Regions from separate parts of the Homo sapiens genome. Here region 2 is linked to region 1. The links are contacts of gene promoters, found by promoter capture Hi-C in human tissues and cell types (Jung and others, 2019). All regions are on one chromosome and are shown on one strand. Each heading gives the region's core, a stretch centred on a gene start or on the middle of the fragment in contact. The rest is flanking DNA. Distances are from core to core; before and after follow the strand shown. Region 1 holds the start of FAM222B (family with sequence similarity 222 member B). Region 2 overlaps FAM222B (family with sequence similarity 222 member B).

The links. Contacts are between HindIII fragments. The study calls those that stand out against the background at their distance.
Region 2: a fragment that was not itself captured here is called in contact with the fragment with the promoter of FAM222B in region 1 in 1 of the 25 tissues and cell types used here (adrenal gland).

What each region holds. Positions count from the first base shown.
Region 1 is chr17:28,839,947-28,846,758 of GRCh38, reverse strand. FAM222B (family with sequence similarity 222 member B) reads left to right here and starts at 3,969. Exons shown (of 3, transcript NM_001077498.3): 1 at 3,969-4,077. RefSeq lists a silencer at 4,001-4,190 and an enhancer at 3,876-4,390. The HindIII fragment of the contact is 21,274 bases long and covers 1-6,812 here.
Region 2 is chr17:28,802,833-28,809,644 of GRCh38, reverse strand. All of the region lies in intron 1 of FAM222B (family with sequence similarity 222 member B), which reads left to right. Among named protein-coding and RNA genes, the nearest start is that of FAM222B, 37 kb to the left of the region's middle. RefSeq lists an enhancer at 1-904. The HindIII fragment of the contact is 5,160 bases long and covers 1-4,986 here.

The DNA of each region.
Region 1 (6,812 bases), core at 2,720-5,219:
GAACCCTTGGATATTGAGGACCAATATTGAGCAGGAGAGGGCTGTGGGGTTAATAGAGGATTTTCTTTTCTTTTTTAAGAGGAAAATTTTATTCTTACTGAGATGGAGTCTGGCTCCCCTAGGCTGGAGTGCAATGGTTGAATCTCACTGCAACCTCCGCCTCCCAGACCCAAGCAATCCTCGCTCTTCAGCCTCCCAAGTAGCTGGGACTACAGATGCGGGCCACCACACCCGGCTAATTTTTTGGTAATTTTTTTGTACAGACGGGTTTTCACCATGTGGCCCAGCTTGGTCTCAAACTCCGCCTACTCCACCTCCCAAAGTGATGACATTACAGGCGTGAGTCACCGTACCTGGCCTGAACATTTTTTTTTTAATTAAAAAAATTTTTTTGAGACACAGTCTCACTCGGTTCCTTAGGCTGCGGTGTAGTGTAGTCTAGGCTCACTGCAACCTCTGCCTCCTGGGTTCAAGTGATTCTCCCACCTCAGCCTCCCAAGTAGGTGGGACCACAGGTGTGCACCACCACATCCAGCTAATTTTTTTTTTTTTTTTTGAGATGGAGTCTTGCTCTGTCGCCCAGGCTGGAGTGCAGTGGCATGGTCTCGGCTCACTGCAACCTCCACCTCCTGGGTTCACGCCGTTCTCCTGCCTCAGCCTCCTGTGTACCTGGGACTACAGGCGCCCGCCACCATGCCCAGCTAATTTTTTGTATTTTTAGTAGAGACGGGGTTTCACCGTGTTAGCCAGGATGGTCTCGATCTCCTGACCTCGTGATCCACCCGCCTTGGCCTCCCAAAGTGCTGAGATTACAGGCGTGAGCCACCAGGCCCAACCCTTATTTATTTATTTATTTTTCTTTTTGAGATGGAGCCTTGCTCTGTCACCCAGGCTGGATTGCAGTGGCGCAATCTTGGCTCACTACAACCTCCACCTCCCGGGTTCAATTGATTGTCCCACCTCAGCCCCCCAAGTAGCTGGGACTACAGGCACCCGCCACCATGCCCGGCTAATTTTTTGTATTTTTAGTAGAGATGGGGTTTCACCGTGTTAGCCAGAATGGTCTCGATCTCCTGACCTTATGATCTGCCCACCTCGGCTTCCCAAAGTGCTGGGATTACAGGTGTGACCCACTGTGCCTGGCCTATTTATTTATTTTTTCTTTTTTTCCTTTTTTTTTTGAGACAGAGTCTCGCTCTGTCGCCAAGGCTGGAGTGCAGTGGCGCGATCTCGGCTCACTGCAAGCTCCGCTTCCCAGTTCATGCCATTCTCCTGCCTCGGCCTCCCGTGTAGCTGGGACTACAGGCGCCCACCACCACGCCCAGCCAATTTTTTTGTATTTTTGTATTTTTTTTTTTTGAGATGGAGTCTCGCTCTGTCCCCAGGCTGGAGTGCAGTGGCACCGTCTTGGCTCACTGCAAGCTCTGCCTCCGGGCTTCACGCCATTCTCCCGCCTCAGCCTCCCAAGTAGCTGGGACTGCAGGGGCCCGCCACCATGCCCGGCTAATTTTTTATATTTTTAGTAGAGATGAGGTTTCACCGTGTTAGCCAGGATGGTCTCGATTTCCTGACCTCGTGATCCGCCCACCTCGACCTCCCAAAGTGCTGGGATTACAGGCCTGAGCCACCGCGCCCGGCCCTATTTATTTTTTTAATTGAGATGGAGTCTCACTCTGTTATCCAGGCTGGAGTGCAGTGGTGCGATCTCGGCTCATTGTAACCTCCGTTCCTGGGTTCAAGCGATTTTCCTGCCTCAGCCTCCTGAGTAGCTGGGACTACAGGTGCATGCCACCATGCCCAGATAATTTTTGTATTTTTTCAGTAGAGACAGGGTTTCACCGTGTTGGCCAGGCTGGTCTCGAATTCCTGGCTTCAAGTGATCCGCCCGCCTTAACCTCCCAAAGTGCTGGGTTTACAGGCATGAGCTATCTTGCCTGGCCACTATTTTTTAGATTTTTTGTAGAGATGAGTCTCCCTATGTTGCCCAGGCTGGTCTCTAACTCCTGGGCTCAAGCAATCCTCCCAACCTGGCCTCCCAAAATGTTGGGATTACAAGCATAAGTCACTATGCCCAGCTTTATTTTTAATTTTTTTTTCTTTTGAGACGGAGTCTCGCTCTGTCGCCCAGGCTGGAATGCAGTGGCTTGATCTCGGCTCACTGCAAGCTCCGCCTCCCGGGTTCACGCCATTCTCTTGCCTCAGCCTCCTGAGTAGCTGGGACTACAGGCGCCCGCCACCACGCCCGGCTAATTTTTTGTATTTTTAGTGAGACGGGGTTTCACCGTGTTAGCCAGGATGGTCTCGATCTCCTGACCTCATGATCCGCCCGCCTCGGCCTCCCAAAGTGCTGGGATTACAGGCGTGAGCCACTGCACCTGGCCTATTTAAATTTTTTTAACATTCCTCATTGAGCACTCAACTTGTCTTTTTTTCTTCTCTTTTTCCCCCTTACGTTGTATCTTGGGCCTTATGTGTCCAAACTCTGAAGAGAGGAGACCAGCGCTGGAGTTGAGAGAGAAAAAAGAGCCATGGTGATGAGGAGAGAGTTTAGTCCTGTACCTCCTCTTGCCTGCTGCTTTCAAGTCTGTTTTGTTGAATTCTCAGGACTCGATTGAGCTTAGTCTCTTGTCAGGCTATGCCAAAGCAGCACAGTAGTCTAGGGACTGACAGTTGGGCCTCACTGGACTTTAGTGGTTTTCTTTTACCAGTTTGAAAAAGGGCCAGGCTCACAGTGAGAGCTGGAAAGCAGGGGACTATTTGCCTGCGAATTCCTCAATAGCATACACGCGATGCCTAGAACATTTCTGTCCAATAAACAGCATGTGCTTGATAAACATACTGAACTTAGCGGTGTCCCCAGTGCATTCTAGGCGAGGTCACCTCCTTGACAAGGTCCCCAGGACTTCATTGCACCTCCTAGCTAGTAGCGTATTCTAGGATGGCAAAGCTGCCTTTACATAATTACCCCCGATACATTCTAGACACGATCATCTTGAAAGAGACCCAAATTTTACCAGGCATGGTGACTCAGGCCTGTAATCCCAGCACTTTGGGAGGCCGGGGCGGGCGAATCATCTGAGGTCAGGAGTTCGAGACCAGCCTGGCCAACATGGTGAAACCCCGTCTCTACTAAAAATACAAAAGTTAGCCAGGCGTGGTGGTGCAAGCCTGTAATCCCAGCTAGTCAGGAGGCTGAGGCAGGAGAATCGTTTGAACCCGGGAGGCGGAGGTTGCAGTGAGCTGAGATCGCGCCACTGCACTCCAGCCTGGGCAACAAGAGCAAAACTCCGTCTCAAAAAAAAAAAAAAAAAAAAAAGACCCAGGCTGGGCGCGGTGGCTCATGCTTGTAATCCCAGCGCTTTAGAAGGCTGAGGTGGGTGGATCACCTGAGGTCGGGAGTTCGAGACCAGCCTGACCAACATGATAAAACCCCGTCTCTACTAAAAATACAAAATTAGCTGGGCGTGGTGGTGCATGCCTGTAATCCCAGCTACTCGGGAGGCTGAGGCAGGAGAATCGCTTGAACCCGGGAGGCGGAGGTTGTTTGAGCCGAGATCACGCCATTGCACTCCAACCTGGACAACAAGAGCGAAACTTCGACTCAGAAAAAAAAAAAAAAAGACCCAAATTTATCATCAGTGGTCACCTCAGAGCACCTGAATTCAGGCCTTTAAGTGCAAGTAGGATGCAGAATTCTGGAAGAGCCAGTAAGTCTGTGGCTCCTTGGGGAAGCGCGATCCAAGGGTTTAGTAACCTAGGCACGGTACTCCAGAGGCGTACCCTGAGGCAGCCGCCAAATTCTCTAAGCCTCAGAATTCTTCAAGGCCAGCTCCCATGTCCACTAGAGACCCAGGGGTCCAGACCATCAGGCACTGAGGAAGACGCCCCCGGCAGGGGCTGCGCAGGCGCGTGCGGCCCGAAAGGGCCCAGGCGCTACACGCTGCGCAGGCGCAGGAGCGGCTCCGGGTAGTCCCCACAGCTGCGCCGGTGACTGAGGGGCCGGGCAGTGGAGAAGTGGTGGCGGCGGGCGGCGGGCGGCAAAGGAGCAGCCATGAGGGCCGGGCCCAGTCACCGACCGTGAGTAGTGGTGGAGGGGGAGTGGACAACGCGTGGGAAGAGGGTAACTTAGCGGAAGGATACATGACTTTGTGGGGTGGGCTCTGACTGTGGGAGACGGAAGGGCGTGGGGGAGGTACAGTTTGAGGTGATGATGGGAGAATTTGGGGCACGGGTGGCCCGGTCGCCGGCCGCAGAGCTGGACAGCTTGGTGGAGGGGGACGGGGTTGCGTGCTGTGGAGTGAAGCAGCCCATTTGTATCATCCCTTCCTCCAGGAGCTTTTGGTCGCCTCTCCTTTCCGCTTCTTTCAGAGAATGATTGCGGGGGGAGGGTGGTGGAGGATGAAAGCTCTGCTGGAGCTTAAGAAGCCACCTCTGAACCAGGCAGGGGAAGGGTCGGTCTCCCGGAGTAATAGGCTGCTCTGGGTAGAGGATGGGAGTCGGGAACCCTCTTTTGAAAGCCGGGAGGGGTCTAGGGAAAAGAGCTAGGGGCTTAGAGTCAGGCAGGTTCGAAAGGAAGTCCACCATTGATAAAGCTGTTAGGTAACCTTGGGCAGGTCCCACTTAACCTTTCTGAACACCAGGAAGATGTCATGCTTCAAACGGGCTATTGCAAGCATCACCTATGTAATTGAGATTGTTTATGCAAATTGTGAATTGTAAGTACTATGTTGATGTTAATGTATCACCAACAATGTTAGTGGAATTTAGACCTTACCGTTGTTAATGGAATGACTGATTTCTCTGTTAAGATAAGAAGCGTATTGTTTGTAAAACCTCAGTAGACACATATGTGCTTTCTTTATGGGCACAGCAGACCATGTGCAGAACTACCAGTTCTGTAATGTGATAAATTAGCCATCAGACTTCTGTAGGAAAAATACCGTACTCCGGCGTTTTTACAAACGGTTTGCAGCTCCTCACCCGAAAGGATGGAGGGCCAATCTATTAAAATATTTTCTGAACATAGCTAACTCATGTTGCCTTATAACACAGTTGGCACTAATGTGCTTTAACGAGTTGAGAAAAGGCCGGGTGCAGTGGCTCATGTCTGTAATCCCAGCACTTTGGGAGGCCGAGGCGGGCGGATCACGAGGTCAGAAGTTGGAGACCAGCCTAGCCAACGTAGTGAAATCCCGTCTCTACTAAAAATACAAAAAATCAGCCGGGTGTGGTGGCGGGCGCCTGTAATCCCAGCTGCTTGGGAAGCTGAGGCAGGGGAATCACTCGAACCCGGGAGGCAGAGGTTGCGGTGAGCCGAGATAGTGCTATTGCACTCCAGTTCGGGTGACAGTGCGAGACTCCGTCTGGAAAAAAGAGTTAAGAAAACTAGTTTGAGACAAGCTGGGAGGGCTGCCCAGTGAGGGATGTGAAAATATAATTTGTTTATTATATTTTATTTTATTTTTGAGACGGAGTCTCGCTCTGTCGCCAGGCAGGAGTGCAGTGGCATCATCTCGGCTCACAGCAACCTCCGCCTCCCGGGTTCAAGCGATTCTCCTGTCTCAGCCTCCTGAGTAGCTGGGATTACAAATGCCCACCACCACGCCTGGCTAATTTTTGTAGTTTTAGTAGAGATGGGGTTTCACCATGTTGGCCAGGCTGGTCTTGAACTCCTCACGTCAGGTGATCCACCCACCTCGGCCTCTCAAAGTGCCGGGATTACAGGCGTGAGCCACCGTGCCTGGCTATTTTGTTATCTTTATTTTTATTTTATTTTATTATAATTTTTTTTGAGGTGGGTGAAGGAGTCTTGCTCTGTCACCCAGGCTGGAGTGCAGTGGTGCGAACTTGGTTCACTGCAACCTCCGCCTCCTGGGTTCAAGCAATTCTCCTGCCTCAGCCTCCCTAGTACCTGGGATTATAGGCACGTGCCACCATACCCGGCTAATTTTTGTATTTTTTTTAGTACACTCGGGGTTTCTCCATTGCTGGACAGGCTGGTCTCAAACTTCTGACCTCAGGTGATCCGCCCGCCCCAGCCTCCCAAAGTGCTGGGATTACAGGCGTGAACCACCGTGCTTGGCCCATTTTATTATTTTTAAATTATAAAAAGTTCTCCTTTGCAAAGGAGTCTCTGGCTGCTCCGGGGACCTGTCGCTGTTTTGGAGGTCAGATATGCATAAGGCAGCCCTCTAGCTCTGCTTTTTGTTACCCTGCTTGTCAGTGGGATCTCTCAGGTGGAATATCTCAGAAGAGGAGCCCAAGAGGTGTCTTGGTTTTCCTGAGAGGCTGAAGAAACACTCCTGAGACGTGTTTTTTAATGTAGACAAAGCAGAGGACAAACTATGTGTTTATGGAAAGAGAAAATGGGTTCTTTTTATTTTATTTTGTTTTGACACAGAGTCTTGTTCTGTCGCCCAGGCTGGAGTGCAGTAGCGCAATCTCGGCTCATTGCAACCTCCACCTCCCGGGTTCAAGCAGTTCTCCTGCCTCAGCCTCCAAGTAGTTGCGATTACAGGCACCCACCACCATGCCCGGCTAGTTTTTGTATTTTTAGTAGAGATGGGGTTTCGCCATTTTGGTCAGGCTGGTTTCGAACCAGGTGATCCGCCTGCCTCGGCCTCCCAAAGTGCTGGGATCACAGGCGTAAGCCACCAAGCGCAGTGAGAAAATGGTTTCTAAAGTAGAGATGCAGACTCCTTTTAAAAGGACATAGACACTTCAGCTTTGCTGACTCTGAGGATTGAGACCTTAAACTGTCAAGGCGTTTTGGCAATTGATGAGTGATTGGTCTTTTACCTGAGTAAAGGTAG
Region 2 (6,812 bases), core at 1,157-3,656, 36 kb after region 1:
ATGGTGCAATAATTAGGGGTTCGTGAAAGAATTTTCCCAGGAGACAGAAGACTATGTATAGAACTAATCATAAATGTATTTGCACTGATGTTCAAATATCATTTAAGGGGCATGGAAATCCTGGAATTTGGTCATCTGCAAGGAAACAATTATAGAAAGCCATAATCTCTTAGGTTGAGGGGGCATAGTGCTGGTTGAGGTTAAAGCAGTTGATTTAATTTTCTTTAGCAGTCTGTTTTTATCCAACCTGCTTATTTCATTTCTCTCTCTCTCTCTTTTTTTTTTTTTTTTTGAGACGGAGTCTCGCTCTGTCACCCAGGCTGGAATGCAGTGGCACAATCTCTCTGCTCACTGCAGCCTCTGCTTCCCAGGTTCAAGCAGTTCTCCTGCCTCAGCCTCCTGAGTAGCTGGGACTACAGACACGCACCAGCACGCCTGGCTAATTTTTGTATTTTCAGTAGAGACAGGGTTTCACCATGTTGGCCAGGGTGGTCTCAAACTGACCTCAGATGGTCCACCTGCCTCGGCCTTCCACAGTGCTGGGATTACAGGCATGAGCCACCGTGCCCGGCCCATCCTGCTTATTTCTGTGAGTCACGGCTTGGAATGTGTTAAGAAAAAGGACTCTATGTTCTCTCTAAAGGGAGACTCGAGACTAATCCCCTGTTCACATCAGAAGTATAAAATGATCCCCTTGAGAAGGTGAAAGAAAAATATTGGGCCCTTGGCATTGCTTGATTCTCAGAATAATCAGCTTGAGTGTTGTAAGGTTTGGAATTGGGAAAAGCTTACTCTAGGTGAGAAAATATTAGAGGCACAGGAGACTCTGAGAATGCTCTGTCAATTGTCAGAGACTTATTTAGAACAATGGATGCATTCATATGGAGATGTGGGTGATGGTAGTTTTTAGCTTTTCAGCTTTTTCAGTCAGGTGTCAGAGACAATATTTTGTGTGTTTAAGCACAATCCCCTCCCCCAGGGTTTGACTCTTGGAAGCTGAATCTTTTGAGGAAGTTGTTTGCTATGAGTCTGAATCCTGAAAGTAGAGGACTTGATGGAGTCTGTAATCTGTTTACCACTCAGATGAGGATGTAGAATTTATTGTTGGTGAGTTACTGAACTCTTCCTAAAGAATGGTTGCTTAGGCAAATTTTCTCTCAATCAGTTTAACCCTTAGTAGTTTACAGTCTGTTCTCAGTGAAGGCCAGAGCTGTCTTTCTAATGATACTGTCCTTTAAGAATCCTTGTTGGATATGCATGTGTGTTGTTCAGTGGCTCAAAATAAAGGACTGGAATGATGTATGGTTCTCTCTTCATCCAGGACAATTTAGCTTTTGGTAACCTGGGCTGGCATTGTTATTAATTTCTCTCCTAGATCAAATGGTTGGTGGGGTTGCTTTCCAACGTTAAGACACCACTGTGTTTGATTATTTTGGTTTTGTAACTAATAGGGCAATGAGTAATGCATTCATTTTGGAAACAGGCCAGTGGTAACACAGCTCTTGGGCCTGCTGGACGTGTGGAAAAATAGGACAGAGTAAACAATTGAGGGCATAAATAATGAATCTTCCAACTGAGCCCTGGGAGAGTGAGGGAGATTATCCTCAGAGCTGTTCAGTCTGGCAGTAAAAGGGAAAGAGTCCACTGAATTAATTACCCAGACTGTATTTGATACTGCAGGAGGTATGAGATTGTCAAAACCATTCAAAACAAAGTTACCTTTCCGATACAAACTTTTAATCCATCTTTTTGTTTGTTTTAAACCAGACATTTGAATTGTTCATTTATTTTTTAGAGTCCAGGCCTTTGTATCTTCTTTAAACTTTGTTCTATATGTTAGCATTCTGTGAACACTTGATGGTCCTTTTGTTTAGTCAGATCTTAGAAGTTTACTTCATTAGAGATTTCATGATCTGTAAATACATAAAACGTCTCACAAAAGGTTAAGACAAGAGTTTGGGCCAGATGTGGTGACTCATGCTTGTAATCCCAACACTTCAGGAGGCTGAGGCGGACGGATCACTTGAGGCCAGGAGTTCAAGACCAGCCTGACCAACATGGTGAAACCTCATCTCTACTAAAAATATGAAAATTAGCTGGGCATGGTGGCACAGGCCTGTAATTCCAGCTACTCAGGAGGCTGAGGCAGGAGAATTGCTTGAACCCAGGAAGTGGGGGTTGCAGTGAGCTGAGATCGTTGGACTGCACTCCAGCCTGGGTGACAGAGTGAGACTCCACATAAAAGCAAAACAAACAAACAAAAAAACACACACACAAAAACAAGCGTTTCTTCAGCCCAAGAATCATTTCCAGTATTAAGATAAATATTTGCCAGGCGCGGTGGCTCACGCCTGTAATCCCAGGACTTTGGGAAGCTGAGGCAGGCGGATCACCTGAGTTCGGGAGTTCAAGACCAGCTTGACCAACATGGAGAAACCCCATCTCTATTAAAAATACAAAAATTAGCTGGGTGTGGTGGTGCGTGCCTATAATCCCAGCTACTTGGGAAGCCCAGGCAGGAGAATCGCTTGAACCCAGGAGGTAGAGGTTGCAGTGAGCCGAGATTGTGCCATTGCACTCCAGCCTGGGCAACAGGAACGAAATTCCATCTAAAAAAAAAAAAAGATAAAAAAAGATAAATAGTCTTACTTTTGGATAGTTTTTATCCAGTGAATTAAATGAACATCGGTCTCAGCATTTCTCTGAAGTAGGGAAAACTAATGGCCTGTGATTATCTAAATAACTTAAGTGATTTGGTAGTGAAGCCAGACCGAGAGCCAAGGTCTCTGAATTCTTCCTTTCTCTGAATTTCTAATATAGCTTATTATTTTCTCCAAGAAATTTCAGGAACCCTATTTGAAATGATTTGAAGTTTTCCTATATCTACCCTGAGAGGCTTTTTTTATCTTTCTGGTTGTGAAGGGGATCCAAACACCAGTATGCTATTATTAATCAAAAGAAGAATGCTCAAGATGAGGTATTGGAGAAAGAAAAAATAAAGTTGTTAAGAAAAGACCAACTTGAAGGTGATTTTATTTTGTTTTGTTTTGAGACAGGGTGCCGTCCCAATTATATTGCCCAGGCTGGCCTTGAACTCCCGGACTCAAGCAGTACTCCTGACCCAGCCACCGAAGGGACTACAGGTGTGCACCGTGGTGCCCGACTTCCAAATTGAAGTTTTATTATATTTGGTGCTGGTGGATCCCAGGAAGGAAATACTGGGCTGGTTAGATTAAATTCAGTCATGGACTGAGTTTGTTACATTGCGGCCTAACTGAAAAGGGCAGAGGGCATCTTTACCAAGATATGGACAAGACTCTAGTTAAGAGTTCATTCCTTAGATTCACAGAGACCAAAAAGTGGAAAAAACAAAAGTTCATTCCTGATCTTTGAAAAGTCTGTTATTGATTATACACACAAAAGGGCAAGCAGGCAAAGTATAGACAGGTGAAATCAATCCAAAGATATTCTCAAGGACACTTTTTTTTTTTTTAGTTGGAGTTTCACTCTTGTTGCCTAGGTTGGAGTGCAATGGCGCGATCTCGGCTCACTGCAATGTCCACCTCCCAGGTTCAAGCGATTCTCCTGTCTCAGCCTCCCAAGTAGCTGGGATTATAGGAATGTGCCACCACATGCACCATGTGCCCAGCTAATTTTGTATTTTTAGTAGAGATGGGGTTTCTCCATGTTGGTCAGGCTGGTCTCGAACTCCCGACCTCAGGTGATACGCCCACCTCCACCTCCCAAAGTGCTGGGATTACAGGCGTGACCCACCGTGCCCTGCCTCAAGGGCACATTTTTAGGCAACAGCTTTAACTTCCTCTGGTTTTTAACTGAGGTTTTCTAGGCATACAGACTACTGAAAAATTTGTTTTTTTCTTTGGTCATTCAACTAAGCAGTAGGCAAGATAGCCAAGAACCTGTATTACACTTAGTTTTGTTTTGAGACAGAGATCCCACTTTTTTGTGTTTCTCTTTCTTTCTTTTTTTTTTTGAGACAGGTTCTCACTGTGTCATCCAGGTTCGAATATAGTGTGATCACGGCTCACTGCAGTCTCCACCCCTTGGGCTCAGGCAGTCTTCCCATCTCAGCCTCTTTTATTTTTTTTGAGATGGGAGGCTTGCTCTGTCACCCAGGCTGGAGTTCAGTGGCATGATCTCGGCTCACTGTAACCTCCACCTCCTGGGTTCAAGTGATTCTTGTGCCTCAGCCTCCTGAATAGCTGGGATTACAGGCATGTACCACCACACCAGGCTAATTTTTGAATTTTCAGTAGAGACGGGGTTTCACCATGTTGGCCAGGTTGGTCTCGAACTTCTGGCCTCAAGTGATCTGCCTGCCATGGCCTCCCAAAGTGGTGTGAGCCACCATGCCCGGCCCATCTCAGCCTCTTGAGTAGGTAGGACCACAGGTTCGCATCATCATGCCTGGCTACTTTTTTCATTTTTTATAGAGACGGGGTCTCCCTATGTTGTCCAGGTTGGTCCCAAACTCCTGGGCTCCAATGATCCTCCCACCTTGGCCTCCCAAGTGCTGGGATTAGAACCATGAGCTATCATGTCCAGACTACACTTAGTTTCTTTCTTTTTTTTTTTCCTGAGATGGAGTCTCGCTCTGTCGCCCAGACCAGAGTGCAGTGGCGTGATCTCGGCTCACTGCAAGCTCTGCCAATGGGGTTCACGCCATTCCCCCGCCTCAGCCTCCCGAGTAGCTGGGACTATAGGTGCCTGCCACCACGCCTGGCTAATTTTGTTTCTGTATTTTCAGTAGAGATGGGGTTTCACTGTGTTAGCCAGGATGGTCTCGATATCCTGACCTTGTGATCTGCCCACCTTGGCCTCCCAGAGTGCTGGGATTATAGGCGTGAGCCACCGCACCCGGCCTGCACTTAGTTTCTTAATCATCAAAAGTAGTATATAACTCAGTACTGGACCTAGAAAAATTCAGCTCAATGTAGTATCCTTGGGACAGTTTGTTTTATTTAATACTAAATATAAAATCTATATTAGAGGCCAGGCATGGTGGCTCATGCCTGTAATCCCAGCACTTTGGGAGGCCGAGGTGTGTGGATCACAAGGTCAAGAGATCAAGGCCATCCTGGCCAACATAGTGAAACCCCTTCTCTACTAAAAAATACAAAAGTTAGCTGGGCGTGGTGGCGCGTGCCTGTAGTCCCAGCTACTCGGGAGGCTGAGGCAGGAGAATCGCTTGAACCCGAGAGGTGGAGGTTGCGGTGAGCCGAGATCGCGCCACTGCGCTCTAGGCTGGCGACAGGGCGAGACTGTGCCTGAAAAAAAAAAAAAATCTGTATTAGCATTCTCCAGAGAAACAACCAGTAGGGTAAATATATAAGAGGGGATTAGGACTTGGCTCATTTAGTTATGGAGGCTGAGAAGTTCCACAATATGCTGTCTGCAAGCCCGAGAACCAGGAAAGCTGGTGGTGTCATTCAGTCTGAGACCAAAGGCCTAAGAACTAGGAGCTCTGATTGCCAAGGGGAGGAGAAGATAGATGTCCTGGTTCCCGAAGAGACCTGACCTTTGTTACTTAATCACACTGAGGTGCTATGGAGAATTAAAATCTTTCAAGTAAGTCATACGTAAACTAGCTTTTGATACTGAAATGTCATTTTTGTTTGTTTTTTGCTTTTTGGTTTTTTTTTTGAGACGTGGTCTTGCTCTGTCACCCAGGCTGGAGCGCAGTGGCATGATCTCGGCTTACTGCATCCTCTGCCTCCCAGGTTCAAAAAGTTCTCTGCCTCAGCCTCCCAAGTAGTTGGGATTACAGGCACCTGCCACCACACCCAGCTAATTTTTTTGTATTTTTTTAGTAGAGATGGGGTTTCACCATCTTGGCCAGGCTGGTCTTGAACTCCTGACCTCTTGATCCACCCGTCTCGGCCTCCCAAAGTGCTGGGATTACAGGCGTGAGCCACCGCACCTGGCTGAAATGTCTTCATTGTTGGTGTCTTCTGACCCCATAGTATATGTAAATAATTCATCATATGTGGGTGAGCTGTTGGTAGCTAAGCCAAAGAAACAAACTGCAGCCAGACACAGTGGCTTATGCCTGTAATCCCAACACTTTGGGAGACTGAGGCAGGAGGATTGCTTGAGCCCAGGAGTTTGAGACCCGCCCAAGCAAGATGGTGAGACCCTCTCTATAAAAAAATTAGGTGGGTGTGGTGATGTGTGCCTGTACTCCCAGCTACTTGGGAGGCTGAGATGGAAAGATCCCTTGAGCCCAGGAGTTCGAGGTTGCAGTGAGCTGCTATCCCAAGTAGTGAGAGAGCAGGGTGAGAGAGCAGGACCGTGTCTCTAAAAAGAAAAAAGAAGAACCTGGGTACGGTGGCTCATGCCTGTAATCTCCACACTTTGGGAGGCCAAGGTGGGCAGATCACTTGAAGTCAGGCATTCGAGACCAGCCTGGCCAACCTGGTGAAACACTGTCTCTACTAAAATTCAAAAATTAGCCAGGCATGGTGGCATGCACCTGTAATCCCAGTTACTCAGGAGGCTAAGGCAGGAGAATTGCTTGAACTTGGGAGGTGGAGGTTGCAGTGAGCCGAGATTGCACCACTGTACTCCAGCCTAGGCAACAGAGTGGGACTCCCTCTCAAAAAAAAAAAGAAAAAGCAAAGAAACAAACCTCTCTTCTTAACCAAAGCAAAGTTTTCTAACACTGGGCAATACTTGCTAATAATCAGAGCTGTTGGCTGAAATGAAATCCATTTAGAATAGTCAGTGTGTGATGAAAGTAGTACTGTCATCACTTTGTTGTTGTTTTTGCAGTTGTATAATTTTATTTGATG